Linked DNA regions of Homo sapiens: region 2 is linked to region 1. The links are contacts of gene promoters, found by promoter capture Hi-C in human tissues and cell types (Jung and others, 2019). All regions are on one chromosome and are shown on one strand. Each heading gives the region's core, a stretch centred on a gene start or on the middle of the fragment in contact. The rest is flanking DNA. Distances are from core to core; before and after follow the strand shown.

Region 1 (6,970 bases), core at 466-2,965:
CCCCCGACATCCCCTACCAATCACTCTTGGGGGAGTAGGATTTTCTGAGATGAATGTAGACAGACAGAAGATTATTGGGGGAGGGATCAGTATGCATAAAGATGTGGAAGTTGAAAGCCATGACCCATGTTTGGAGAATGGGCTGAAGAGTAATTCGCTTGGGGTGTTGGCTAGAGAACAGGGTCGCGTCCACGTTATACAGCTTTAAATGCAAAGAATTAGATTTTATTCGTTAGCTGCTGAAGGCTTTTGAGCAAGAGGAGTATTTTTGTAAGACTTATTGATGATGGCTGATAATTTATTGGTGATGGGACAATTAAGAGACTGAAGGTTGGGAGACTGGCTGGGAAGCTTCTGTAATAATAGTCCGGGTATGAGGTAATTTTGGCTCTGCAGTGGCAGTGAGAACAGAGTAACTGACCATACACAGACACTTTAAAGAGCCAACAAGAACTAAATGACTGGAGATCTAGAGGAAGGGGGAGGAATCAAAGAAAATTTTCTTCCAAAGATCTAATCAAGATGAAATTTAATAATATTTTTGGGTAGTTAGTTGTTATTTACTTGTTGTATAGGGTTAACACAGTCTTTGAATGCTGCCTCTCCAAGAAATTCTGAAAACTTTCTTACAGTATTTGAAGAAAACCTTGCGTTACTATAAAGAAACTCTAAAGAGAGCAACTGACCTTTCAGACAAAAAAGAGTCCTTTGTTAGTCAGAAAATGTGGACCGTTTGTCTTTTCAAATGGATGCATGCTACGATAAACGTTTTGCTGGGGGGAAAAATGACTCCAAAGAAGACTTTTGAAGATGTCACCCGAACAGCAAATTATTGGGTGCTGAGCACCTTCCTGTTTCTTCATCCTCTTAAATAATTTTTACTAACCCAGATTTCTAGGTAAGATGATTTAACTTCATCGTATACGTTTACATGTAATGTGTTTCTACAGAAAACAAAAAACCTTTTTGAAGAAAAAAGGGCGTAACTTTTTTTGACAACTTAAATCACTGGCTGTGGGAGTCATTTTTAATTGATGGCACCTCTTCTCCTCCCTCCCCGCCCCCATTCCGTCCCTTTGCTTCCAATACGGCGGATTCTTCACTCAACAAATAAACGAGCACGTAACTTGTACTGTAACTTACTATAACGTCTTTCAAGGTCTTTCTTAACTGTACGTTTTTCTGCACAATCAGCACCTTATTTCTTAGAGACTGTTTATTTCTGGAATTTTTGATGCGTGTGGTGGTTTCCAGGCACCAGGATTTGGTAGTAAAACAGGAGACTGAAAAGAAGTTGCTCCTGAAAGCTGTTCTGTGTGCAGGTAACCAAGAGTCATTTCTAAGACCAGACGGAAGGGAAGGAACTTTACTTGGTAAAGAGCGCGTGGGTGGAAAGAGGAGGGGAGTCCGGGAAGATGAGAGGTGGCAAAGGCGGGACCCCGTGCTCTCTCTAGATCTTAAGCTCCGGGTGGGCGGGCGCCGGTGGCCTGGAGCCCGGCCTGCGCGCATCTCCACGCCTCTGGCCGCCCACCTCCTCCGCCCCTTCCCGGGCTAAAGTTCCCAAACTTTTCCTCCAGCTGGGAGAGGAAGGGTGTTACTCAGTTTAAAAGGGAAGTCCCGCCCCATTCCCGCATTCCGATTGGTCGCGGTTTGCCACGCCCCCGCCAGGGCAGCGGGTCAATTGGCTACGGGAGGGGAGCCCCGCCTCAGGCCTGTCGACGTCTGCTGCCCGGGGCCCGCAGGTGGCAGGCAGGTGGGGCTGGTACAGCCCGCGCCGCCTCTGCTGCAGCCGCTGCCGTCTACTCCTTGCGCGCTGGCACTCCGCAGCCTTTAAGGTTCGCGCGGGGGCCAGGCAAGAGTTAGCCATGAAGAGCCTCAAGTCCCGCCTGAGGAGGCAGGACGTGCCCGGCCCCGCGTCGTCTGGCGCCGCCGCCGCCAGCGCGGTGAGTCCCGCGGTCCGGGCTGCGAGGCGCTCCGCTCCGGGAGCAGCGCAGCCCTCCTTTGCTGGCGAGTTCGCGCGCCGCCTTCCTCTGCTTTTCCTCTGCCAGTTCGGCTTCGGCGGCCCTGGCGACTCCTCCCTGAGGCCGGAGACTCCGTCAGCCCAGAGACCCCGGGGATCCTCCCCGCCGCCGCACCCGAGCCTCTACGGGTCTCTTCCCCACCCCTTTCTCCCAAGCCTCCGAACTTCTGGAAGAAACCTCAGTGGGGCGGTTCTGGCCCCCTCCTCCTAAATCCAAAGTTCCTCGATTGGCACCCCTACTCCGCTCTTTCCGTTGACCCCCCCTCGTCGCTCTCCTCTCCCGGCGCTCGCCCTGCTGCCCACGCCCGCTCGGCCGTGTTGGCTCCCCAGTCCCCGGGGCCGGGGCTCGCACCAGGTAGGGCAGGTGGGCAGGGCTGCGCACCCCGCGCCACCGTGCCCGGACTCCGGACCTTCCCCGGGTCTGAGACAGCGTCAAGCCCTGCCGGGCTGGTGGACGTCCCGTGCTGGCCGCTGTCGTTGTCACTGGGAAGTTTGATTCCCCAGCGAGGCAGAGGGAATCGGCTTAGTCGTAAAGACAAAACCCCACAGGGTGGTGACCCTAGAGGTGGTGAAGTTGGGAGGGGTGGTGGTGATGTGGGTTGTGTAAATCGCACCTGTGGGGCGGGATCCGTGCGGGGCTCTTTCGGTGCTGACCTGCAGCGCGGCCTCAGTGTGCGCGCCAAGGAGTAGTCGGGGCCTCTTTAGTTGGCAGGAGAACAGAAATCTTGAGAAACAGCCTGACCGCAGATGTTGTGATTTAGATAATTTGTCACGTTACAAGAATGGCGATATCATCAAAATTCTATATCATTAAAATAAGTGCCACTTACAAAGTCTTGGAAGAGTCGAACGTAAAGGAGTTGTTATGCTCCAACTGCACAGTTACCTAGTTGGGGTAATTAAAATGAACCTTTACAATTCAACGCAGATTTTACCAAATGATTATATTCTTTTTATCAGAATACTAATTAATCTGCTTCTGCTTTTTTGAGTTAATTCAGTTATGCCTTTCTCTCCACCTATATCGAGGATTATTTTACTTGGACATAAAGGAAATTGTGGAGGAACTACCTAGACTTAAATTCCTATTTCAAAAAAAGAGAGTAGATTCAGATGACGTAATTGATGTTCTTTGATAAAGCATGAAGTCGTTTTATAAGCTCATGGAAAACAGAGATTACTTTGTTTCACTTTTTTTTTTAAAAAAAGTAACTGGCAGAAATGTCATTTAGTGATATTGGAGTTCATTACAGTTAAGATTCTACTTCTGTAATGCAAGTTGTGTTTTTAGCCTTATAGAAGATACAAGTTTCTAGATTTATTAGCTTTGTTTTCCCTGGTTGTGTTTGATTTGCACTAAGGATGTAAATCCCACTTGGAGGTTTATATGCCTTAATTTTATCCAGTTTTCTAGAAATGCAGAGTATTTAGTAGGTATTATCAGCATGATAGTTTGCATTTTATACATTTGGAACATAAAGTGCATATCTCTGAGCTTAAATCTTTAGCACTCAATTGAGCGTTCTATTTTTCTCAAAATGACATAATAAAGATAAACATGATATTAACCTATTTATGTAGAAAAAGCAAACATTTCTGTTTAAATATTAGAATAAGTTCTGTACAATTTAAAAATAAAAGCGTAATGAGGAATAAAACTTAGAATGAATTCTGTAAAATTTTAAAATAAAACTGTAGTGATGAATAAAACCAAACCAAGCATTGATAGAATAAAACACATGTACAGGAGAAATAGACCCTTTCTGCTTTTCAATCTATAAACCATAATCCCAGATTTGGTCACATGTATATGTATTTATTGTATGATTGGGCCACCCTTTTTTTTTTTCTTTTTGCCTTTAAAAACAGTTATTTTTTGAATAGGTAATATAGCACATGGTTTAATATTGGAAAGGAATAAAAATATTTACAACAAAATATCGACACCGTGTTTCCCTAACCCCTGCTTCAGCCACCCTGCCCCCACTTCCTGAGGCCACTGATGATACAGTTGCTTGCATGTTCCTCCAGAGAGAGCTTAGCATATACAAGCAAATATGAATATAGTCACCCTTTATAGAAATGCTAGCACACTGTAGCTGCTGTTTCATATCTTGGACTTTTTTTTTTAAAACTGTAAATAGAGGCTCCCCATTCATATCTTTTGCTGTAATGTACAATTCTGTGATTAATATTCATATTTCAAGTGTGTGTCTGTACCTGTAGGATTAATTCCTAAAAGTGAATTGCTGGGTTAAAGGATATGTGCATTTGTAATTTTGAAGGATGTTGTCAAGTTTCCTTTCATGCATCATGGAACCAGCATATGAGAAATGTTTTCCAAGCTTTTAATAGAAGTCTGTTCAAAGTTTTTGACCTTTGCTAGCCTGATAGGTAAGAACAGTTTATCCTTTCCATTTTTCTTTTTCTGTTTTTTTTTTTTTTTTGAGACGGAGTCTCGCTCGGTCGCCAGGCTGGAGTGCAATGGGACCATCTTGGCTCATTGCAACCTCCGCCTCCCAGGTTCAAGTGATTCTCCTGCCTCAGCCTCCTGAGTAGCTGGGACTACAGGCGTGCACCACCACGCCAGGCTAATTTTTGTATTTTTAGTAGAGACAGGGTTTCACCATGTTGTCCAGGATGGTCTCAATCTCTTGACCTTGTGATCCACCCGCCTCGGCCTCCCAAAGTGCTGGGATTACAGGCGTGAGCCACTGCGCCTGGCCTGTCCTTTCCATTTTTCTATTGGGTTGTCGATATTTTTCCCTATTCATTTGTATATACTTTATATCAGGGAAATTAGCCCTTTTCATTTGAATAATATTATTTCTTAATTGGCTGTTTGTCTTAAGACATTTTTATGGTGGCATTTGCTGTGCAGAGAAGGTGGTTATTTTTATACAATTGAATTTATAACCTTTTATGATTTTTAGGTTTATGTAATATCTTGGCCTTTCCACTCTGCGATATTTAATATTAAACAACCCCCCTCCCCAACTTTCTTCTAGTTTTTTTTCTTTTTTTACATTTAAGTCTTTGATACATAAGATACTTATTATGGTGTTAAAGTACATCTTACTTTCTTCTCTTTCCTCTATGGGTACTTAATTTGGGTCTTAAACTGTTCATTTAATTATTTTGGAAATAGTCACTATTTACTTTGCACAACTTTGATTTGAGATAAAATTTTAAAATGTTTATTTCATAAATAATTTCCTTTGTGTATTTAAGCTTATTATCTGAAGAAGACACAGCAGTAGACTGAGGTATGTGACATATGCAGTATTTTATTACATAATATGTGGAATACAGCATATTAGCTTAGCATGCTAAATTAGAATTATGTGCAGATTATGGGCAAAAGTAGTAATTTTGAATATTCTGAATAGTACTATTGTTATAAATATGCCAATGAATTTAGAGTTTACTAAATGGGAATGTTTGTACACATATAAATGTAGTTCACAATTACAAATTCTGGATAAACTACATTTGTGGATTAGTCCTTTACTAGCAAATCTGGAGATGGCTGCATCTGTTAACCATAAATGAAGAGTGTTTTTATTGTTACATTTATTATTTATTTATTTATTTTTCGAGATGGAGTTTCACTCTTGTTGCCCAGGCTGCAGTGCAATGACGTGATCTCGGCTCACTGCAACCTCCGCCTCCCAGGTTCAAGCAATTCTCCTGCCTCAGCCTCCCAAGTAGCTGGGATTACAGGCATTTGCCACCATGCCCGGCTCATTTTGTATTTTTAGTAGAGAGGTGGTTTCACCACATTGGCCAGGCTGTTCTCAAACTTCTGACCTCAGGTGATCCGCCCACCTTGGCCTCCCAAAGTGCTGGGATTACAAGCATCAGCCACCGTGCCCAGCCTGTTACATTTATTTTTAATCACTTACTAAGTTGGAGCTTCGGATTTCTAAAAGGGATAATTAGATGACTATAAATACTGTACCAGATCTGGTTAATTGTGTGTTCAGTTATATGTATAGTGAGAATATGCTTGTTCCATTTTCACCTAGTTTAGGAAATTTAATATAAATTAAGGGACTGTAATTCCAGAAGTAGTAGAAGTGCTGCAAACAGATATTGTAAGCAGACATTTTAGAAGGGGATTCCACTTTAAATTGGATTGCTTGAGCCCAGGAGTTCGAGACCCGCCTGGGCAACGTGGTGAAATCCTATCTCCACAAAAAATACAAGATTAGCCCGACGTGATGGTGCATGCCTGTGGTCCTAGCTGCCTGGGAGGCTGAGGTGAGGGGATCACTTGGGCCCAGGAGGTCAAGGCTGCAGTGAACTGTGACTCCAGCCTGGGTGATAGAGGGAAACCCTGTCTCCAAAAACAAACAAACAAAGTCGTAGCAGAGTACTTTGATTGTAGAAGTAATCTCTGACCTGAGAGGTTCTGTAGTGATTATTTTTGCTGCCCTTTCTCTAGGCTGCTCTTAAAATGGGGCAGTGAATTTTATAAATCAGAACTAAATATGTTTTAAAGCATCTTGCTATAATGCCTCAGCACTGCGAAAAAATACTGGTATTTCTAAAAGAATTTAGAGTTACAAATATAGCAACTGAAAAAAATCTTCAAAAACATTTTCTGTTTCCACTAATAACATTAGTTTGAGATGTTTAGAAAGCATAAAGGATTAAACATGATTTTGTTTTAGTTGTTGATTTTGAGAATGAGGGCTTTGTGTTTTCCACTGAGGGATTTGGGTGCATTTGAAAAGATCTTAATGTTATTCTCATAACAGCGACTTTTGGGTAATGTAAATAAGATAACAAATTGTTATGTTTAGTTTAAACTCATGATACTTAAGCACTGTTTACTCATTGTCATTAACTATTCCAACCTTAAATTAAAAATGCTTACCTTAATTAAAGCTGTATTCAGACAACTTCCTATGGTTATCCCTGCGTTGAATTTCTTGTGCTTCTTGA
Region 2 (7,887 bases), core at 4,820-7,319, 670 kb after region 1:
GCGTGGATCTGGGGAGATGAGCGCCAGGTCCCCACCACCGCCCAGCCGCAGGGCGGCCCTGAGAGAGGGCATAATCTGGTCTTGCCCTCCCCTTCCCCAGCTTCCATTGCCGGGGCCACTTGGAGGAGGGTGAGTGAGGGGAGGGGCAGAAAGAGAAACCCCGATTCCAGGCCGGAGACTTCTGTACTATCTTTATGTGCCTTTAATTTGTGTTTTGAAAGTTTCCCAGGGGCTGATTGCCATTGCCCTATCTTGGCTAGTAAGATAGGATTGGACCAGCCCATGTGAAATTAGGGTTGGTAAAAATCTCTCTTAGTGACCTCCTGGGAGTGTTTGGAAACTTTTCTGCTTTGCAGCTGGGATCTAGCCAGAGTAGGACAGAAGCCCTCCTTCCCCAGGGTGTTGTGAGGAGTGGAGAGGCCTTGTAAAGCTCTCTCTGCCTCCACTCCCCTCCTCAGGGATCCCCCAGCTGGGTATCTTCTCCACGCTGGGGCAGTAGGCAGACTGTCTTCCTTTTGCCCAGCAAGTTTTAATCTTCATTTGTGAGAGGGCACGGCTCCCTGCACTGCTTTCCACATAAGAGGCCTTCGACACAGTGCTAAATAACTCTCAGAGGACAAGAGGGTCCCAGTGTACACACGATTCCCTGTTGAACCTGAACCTTGTATAAACAGGATATAGGGCACATGTGGTGCTTGTGGGAGGGAAGGCCCAGCTCCCCTTACTACCACATAATATAACGTTCTGTTGAGATGAGAGGAACGCTCGCCCTTGTCAGCTCTTAAACCGCTCTGTAAGCTGGCTTTGGGGTTTGATTTAAACTTCTTTAGCAAATGTATCGTAAAAGTATGATTTGGCCAAAACCTTTCCAAGAAAAAACTGATTTTGAAAAATGACCAGATTTCTGTGTTGTCTGTTAATAGCCATTCTTTTTACTTTTAGTACTATGAGATGTCCTATGGCTTGAACATTGAAATGCACAAGCAGGTAAGTGCTTTTCTCTTTTAAAAATATATTTCATTTTTTAAAAACTTATATATGTGGACTTCTTATGTTCTCTCTTGTTTGAAAGTGAGCCTGCTTCTTCGATTCCTCCCCCTTCTCCTTGAAGAGTGAATGGATCCAGTCCTTGAAATGCAAGGTCTGAGGCTTTGCTGATTTTTTTTTAGACATGTTGAGCTTTTAGCATTTGAGCTTGTGAAATTAGTCCTGGTCTTGGATCTCGGTGGAGGATAAAGGACCAAAGGGAAAGTTGTACCTCCAGGATCTGCTTTACAAACTCCTGAAAGCCCAGAGGTGGCTGGCTGCTTTTATCTGTTTTAATGTAAAATTCTCAAGAGGAAATGCAGGAGGATTTTTTTTTTCTTTCTCCTTTTTTTTTTCTTTTTGCAGAAATGTGATGTTCTGCCTTGATAAGATTAAACTTCAAGAACCTTAAAAGCCAGGCTGAGCTGTCGAAATTTAAGGGAACGAAGCCACTAACTGCTTAAAAATATGAAGCCAGAATGAAATACAACTTCAGTGCCTTGCATTGACAAGGTGGCTTTCTCATCCCTGTCTTGATTTGAAGGCAGCCGAGTTCCCATTTTACAGAGAAGGAAGCTGAAGCTCCTGGGTGAAGTAACTTGCCCAGGGGCAGCCTAGCCAGGACTTTCGAGATGGCTGGGGGTTGAGCTCAGCTTTGAAATCCTGAAGTCAAACCAGTTTAGCTAGTGTGGTGTCGTTTGATGGATATGTAAACTACCTGGTATTGTCACTCTTCTAATAACAGTATACCTCAAACCGAGCAAATACAAACACCCTTTATCTCAGTGCATATCAGTAACTAGTCCCAGTGCTAGGCTGGGCTGTGGGAGAGGCCTGTTTGTGTATTTGTGTTCTGAGGAAAGGCTGCCTATAATTTGGCTTGGCCAACGTTTAGAGTTGACTTGGCACGTATAAATGGAGCAGGCAGGCCGGTTGTTCTTTTTAACAATTGGTGTTCATGAAATCTCAGAAGGCTGTTGACTCATTCTAGCCTTTGGTGACCGTGACTTGAATGGATTTTCTGCTCTAAATTAACAGTCGTTTACAAGGTTTCAATTTTGCTCTTTAAGGAGGCAGGACCCAGGGCAGGTGAGAAGGGCAGGTGACCCTGGAAAGTGGGCAGATTCCTACCCACTCGGGTGGCTTCCTATAGAGCCTTTGGGATCTGTAGTTTCCTTTCCCCTCCTGGAGGGAGCCCCCAGTGTTGGGTGAAGGGAAGCCAGAAAGGGGCCTGAGTTTATTGAGCAATGTGTGGGAAGCCAGCTTGTGGCTTCCTGAGGGATTAGTTAGTCCCTTAGGAAGGCACATGAAGGCTACCATGTTTTTACTTCTTGACACACAGAAATAATAGACAGGGCTTTATACGTAAAGATATTTCTCCTTGGAAAAATAGAATAGAGACAGGTTCTGCAACTGGAAGGGGCCAGGTCCCGGAAGAATGCTTGAAATGGAACTGGGGGCCCAGGTGTTTCAAGGACCTTGGGGTGTATGCAGGGTGCCACTTCCTCCCTTTGTCTGCCCTGTCTTAATTTTTTTTTTCTCAAATAGTATCTTGGGTGTGTTTAAAGAGGGTAATTGCACCCAGGTTTAAAATTTATAGCAGCAGTTATTGGAAGAGCTTGGTAATTAAGGTGTAATGTCTCGTTGCATGTTGAGGTCTGCATGGGTGGTGTTCCGCATGTCTGTGAATGAATGGTGCTTTGGCACTAAGAATCCACCTTGGCTCGCAGCAGATCTGTTCTGTGAGTCCTGGGGATGCTGTGAACGCAGGAAGAGTTAAATATCTTAACGCATTTGGTGGTGGGGTTTATATAAAGAGCAGCTGTGTACATCTGGGATTTCTGGCCATTCCCCAAACAAGGTTCTTAAGGGGAGAATGCCTGGGGTTTGGCTACGTTGTCTCATTTAATCCTCTCAGCTGCCAGTGGTGGATAGAGGCATTCTTTGCCCCCTGTTTATAGGTGAGGAAACTGAGGCTTCAGGGAGGCCAGGAGGGCAGAGCTGGGATTCAAATCCAGCCCTCTGGCTTCCCCACTGGGCACTTTACCTTGCTTGCCACTCACCTTTGCCCTCTAGCCTGAGTTCCCAGCCTGAACATGTGTGCTCTGAATGCAGTGGCTTTGCAAGCTTATGGCAGTCTCTGAGTTGGGTGAAATCACCCTGTGGCTGTGGAGGAACAAAGAGGCAAGGAGGTGAAGAAACCTGTGCCGTGAAATGCAACCCTGATCTAATGGAGCTGGCCACTCCCTAGGTTTGCAAGGGTTCTGTAGAAGAAAGCCCTGCCACTAATTGTAGTGTGGGTCTTGGGTGCATTTGGCGAATGGTGGTTAGGCCTGAGCAAACAAGTTTATCAGCTGACCTGTTTAGCGGTTGACTGGTGTTTTATCGGCACACACAATCAAGTGACTGGAGTGCTTGAATTATTCATGCAGTGTCCTGCCCTCTAGACTTGACTGTTCGTGTGATTACATCTGCCTGGAACAAACAGGCTGGATTCTTCATCTTTAAGCTGGGGTGGGGGTGGGGACTGTCTGTACTTTTATATAATAGATGATCTATAGAGCTAGCACCTTGGGAAGTGTGGCAGTCCTCAGCCTGCGCGCATACACGCACACGCACTCCACCATCACCACCACATATTTTTTTTAAAAGCTCTCCTTTGCTGGCTCTATGGGAAATGCCAATTAGCTGGGAACCTCGAGTCCTGCCAGATGGGCCCGGGTATTGACAGAGGGCAGCTGATGAGGTGCGTCCAGCCCATTTTTATTTTACTGAGAGGTTAAACTCACTGTGGCTGGCTCCTTCTCTGGCTGTTTCTCTGTCTCTCTCTTTTTCCAAGCTGTCAAAATCCCAGAGAAGTAATAAATGGTTTCTCCTCCTGCTCTTCTGCCTCCCTCCCTAATTATGGTAAAGCAAAGATTACAGAATCACAGGCCTGGCCCGGGACTTCAAGAGGTCACCCACCTCCACCAAGCCCCCTGCTTCCAGGCAGAATGTCAAGGGTGGTTCAGAGAGTCTGGGAAGGCAGTGATGACTGACCGGCTCATCACTTGCCATCTTGTTTGTGCAGAGGCTTTCCAGTGTCAGCCACAAATAACAAAGCCAGCTTAAAACCAGGGGCCCCAGAGCAATTGCCATGCATTGGATTTGAGGCACTGGCTCTCTGAGAAGCTGGGTCAGGCAGCCTTTTCACCCACTGTTGGTGAGCACTGACATTTTTGAAAGTGGACTTGAGCCATTTTGATTTTGGGGCAGTGTCGTGCCGACACAATACAGTCACCTTTTTCTGTGAACTGAACAACCTTTCCTGTAAGTTTCTCTTTGAATCTTGGAACTGGAAGAGCCCTTTGGCTTCTCATGCAAACTTTTCAAGTTACAGATGAGGAAACGGTGGCCCAGAGAAGGGAAGCTTATGTACTCAGTCATACAGTCCCACGTTAGTGGTAAAGCTGCTACTGCTGCTTCCCTTCCAACCCAGGACTCTTTTCTGTAAGACTCAAGAAATGAAGAGTGCTCCTTTTCTAGTGTATTCTGTGTCTTTAATTACTATTGCTTCTTTCTGTGTTATTATCCAAACAGGCTAAGGCTACAAAACTGGCCCCACCAAAGTCCAAAGTGCCCCATTTCGGGTTGTATAATCATATCACTGAACCCTTATTGTCCACAGTCCTGTTTTGAATTGCCAGCTATTTGCACAACTAATGATTTGATGTGTGTAATAATAATACATAATGCATAACTAGCAATCCCAGAGGAAAGATTCACAGACCGGGAAAGGTGGTATATATAACCTGTGAACTTTTTACCCTAGCCATGGGGTGCCATAAACACAGGGCTGAGGTAGGAAATGGAAAATCCCCATTTGTCACTCCCCTCCCCTCCCCGCTCTGGATCTTCTCATCTAAATGATAAGGGGCTCACCTGGAAGATCTTGAGGCACACAGAAGTTTTGTGACCACGGTGAAGGTGCAAGGTACAGGTGGCCAGAGGGAGCTACCAGGCAATGAGGTTACAAAGGACTCTGCCAAGGAGTTGAGCCTATCTTGATAGGAGAATGTGGGACCACTTGCAAAGTAGAAGGGGTCAAAGGTCCTTAGACTAGGGAAGTGCCTATTTGTGTGGCATCTGAGTTGAGCTGTGAAATTTTTTTTTTCTTTTTTGCCAGAGTGCTAGCATCCAAGAACCCTCCCACCCGGCCCCATGCCCTGGTATCTGTCTTGACTTTTCCTGCTATATTGATCTTCCCTGGAACAGACTGTAATCACGAGTCCTCTCACTGAGTGGGTGCCTGCCTCGCTCAGCTTTGGGGTCTGCTGGGCTCCAAGCTCCCTGCATGCTGTCTAGCTAGAGGGAGGTTGCCCCACCCCTCAAGACTGCCTTTGGACCCCTTTTCTCTAGTTGCCAGTGGGAGTGGTAGAGTGGGGGTTTCAGTGCTTTTGGGGTCTTTTCCTTCTTGTGCATTTGTCATTGAAATGACCCTGGGAGATGAGCAAATGGCCCCTTGTCCTTACTTTACAGATCAACGGGTGGGAACCTGGCTCCTAATTCGGGACTCATTCTCTGAACTCTCTTGGACCAGGAGCCCGTGGCAGACACGGAGTTCTTCCTTTCCTTGAACTCCTCCTTCCCACCTAGGCTGTTTGTTTCCATTTTGTTGAAGGAGTGAGTCAGTCAAGGAATAAATCTCCTTTTGCTTTCTACGTGGGAGAATGTCATTCTGTCTCATTGTTTGTACAAAATACTGGGACACCAGGGGCAAAAACGTGACAAAGACCTAAGCTTGGCAGTGTTTTCCCCTGTGATCTGGCACTCATTCCTCGTCTCATTTTTGTAGGTATGAAGGAAGCCCCTCTGCTGAGGTCTCTATAGCACTTAGTATGTAATAGGTGCTCAGTAAACATCTTGGTTTTTCTTCAAAATTTACTCAGGTTATCTGAGAGTAGAGTTCCGATTCCCTGAGCCCTGTGAGTAGGAAGTGGGGATTTTAGTTGTGGGCTGGCCGCCCGCTCTGCAGGCTTCCTCCTATGGCCCAGCATCCAGTTTCTTCATCAGTGAAATGAGGGGGTTGGATTCATTCCCAAAGCAGTTATTAGGGGACTGGGATGTGCTGGGTGTGGGCTGGGGTTGGTTACACAGCCGAATAAGACACCATTCCCTCTGCGGGGGAGTCGGATGTCTAAAGAAGTAATTGCAATGCAGTGAGGTAAGTGCTAATGTGGCCCAAGTGTCATAGGAGGAGCACCCAGCACAGAACAGCTTATTCTTCTTGGGTGAGAGCAGACTTCACTGAGGGCTTTGCTTGGCGCGAGTCTGAAAGGGAGGGTAGGGTTTATGAGGCAGAAGTCGGCAGCCGAGGCCCCTCCAGGGTGGCAACAGCTCGCGGCAAGGCAGTGAGATATGTTCTAGAAGCCACACGTCTTCGGAATGATGTGGGGCGGGGACTGCACTTGGGAAGTGAGGCGAGGTGGTGACATTTTGCAGCAGAGCGATCTCCAAGGCCCCTCTGCCCTTGCAGTCGCGGCTCCCCACCCGGTGGCTCCCTGCATCCCTGCATGGCTGGCTCTCCAGGGCTGGCCTGAGTCCATCTGCCGCGGGGTGGGGGTGGGGGCGGGGGCGGGGGCCCGCTCTGGGCCGTTTGTGGCCTGCTCTGCCTGCTTTCCTACCGTAATATGCTGCTTTGAACTTTATTCCCCAAAGTGGCATTGTCTCCTTTCTCATATTGGTAATTCTGTAATGACTGGTTATGACCCGCCCCCTCCCCCATATTTAATTCTCATCAGCCCAGCTCTCCACTTTGCTATTAATGATAGCAGCCAGCAAAATAGCTTTCAACATGCCATTGACAGTCTGGTTTAAGAGAGCACTTGAAGTAGTGCTAGACAGCTGAAAGCACCCATAATTGTGTACCAGAGTGAGAACTGCGTGCTCAAGGGCCTTGTTTTTATATGCTTAAAGGGACAATATCTTGTTTTCAACAAATGCTCTCTGAGACTCACAGCCAAGATGCTTTCTTCCTTTTTCCTTTTCCTTTCTTCTTTTGGCTTTCTCTTCTCCTTCAAAATACATATTTAAAAAAAATTCTTTATAAAATAATTGTTCCCTTCAAGTTGGGGTTAAGGAGAAACTTAAGGAAGGGGGAAACGTCCTGCCGCCATGTAAGCGGGGAATATTTGGTGGGTTTGTTGTTTTGAAGCATCGTCCTTTGCAGGCAGCAAGCTGTGGGTCAGCCTTGCCCTACTGAGGGTCCTTAGGACCTTGCGTTTCTCAAGGAGGTAATGGGAGAGTCTGAATTCGCATCAGCATTGATTTTGAATTCTTTTCTTTGCTAAGGATGTTGCACAATCAGTGGGCTGCAGAGCTGTCACTGTGAATGTTTAGGCAGAGGCCACCTTTTGGGGGAGGGCTGGAGGAGAGGGGTCACCGTGTTGGAGAGTCAGGCCATGACCGCTAAGGAATCAGATTCTAGGAGGCTGTTTGCTGCAGAGTTGATGGCCCAAGAGGCCCGTCTGGAAATCAACAGGGTGGGTGGGGCAAGGACTTGTATTCTTAAGTACAGGTTCACACCAGGCTTGGAGGGTTAACCAGGGGGCCCGGCTAGTCCACCCGGCAGATTTTATCTGAGAACAAATACTTTTCTCCCCTTCACACCAGCCGACTTCATTATTGCTTTGAAAATGCAGTCCTTTGGAAGAGGTTTCCTTTGCCTCTCTGTCACCAAAGCCTCCCATTGCCAATGTGTCCTGTGAAGGGAGAAGAGAGAAGCAACTTCCCATCTGTGGGGCCTGAGAGGCCAGGGAAACCCTGTTGGGGCCTGAAGTCTATGTTGTCCTGTTCTCTCCCAGGCTGGCTGCTCTTGGTAAA

Evidence for each region. The method cuts DNA at HindIII sites, captures the fragments that hold promoters and counts their contacts. A contact is called where the count stands out against the background at its distance.
Region 2: a contact is called between a fragment that was not itself captured here and the fragment with the promoter of UACA in region 1, in 1 of the 25 tissues and cell types used here (H1 embryonic stem cells).

Annotation. Positions count from the first base shown.
Region 1 is chr15:70,758,303-70,765,272 of GRCh38, reverse strand. It overlaps UACA (uveal autoantigen with coiled-coil domains and ankyrin repeats), which reads left to right and starts at 1,715. Exons shown (of 19, transcript NM_018003.4): 1 at 1,715-1,943. The coding sequence starts at 1,866. RefSeq lists a silencer at 1,541-1,950. The HindIII fragment of the contact is 5,114 bases long and covers 1-4,808 here.
Region 2 is chr15:70,087,632-70,095,518 of GRCh38, reverse strand. TLE3 (TLE family member 3, transcriptional corepressor) reads left to right here. Exons shown (of 20, transcript NM_001105192.3): 4 at 943-987. Among named protein-coding and RNA genes, the nearest start is that of TLE3, 6.3 kb to the left of the region's middle. RefSeq lists an enhancer at 6,290-6,877. The HindIII fragment of the contact is 4,549 bases long and covers 3,795-7,887 here.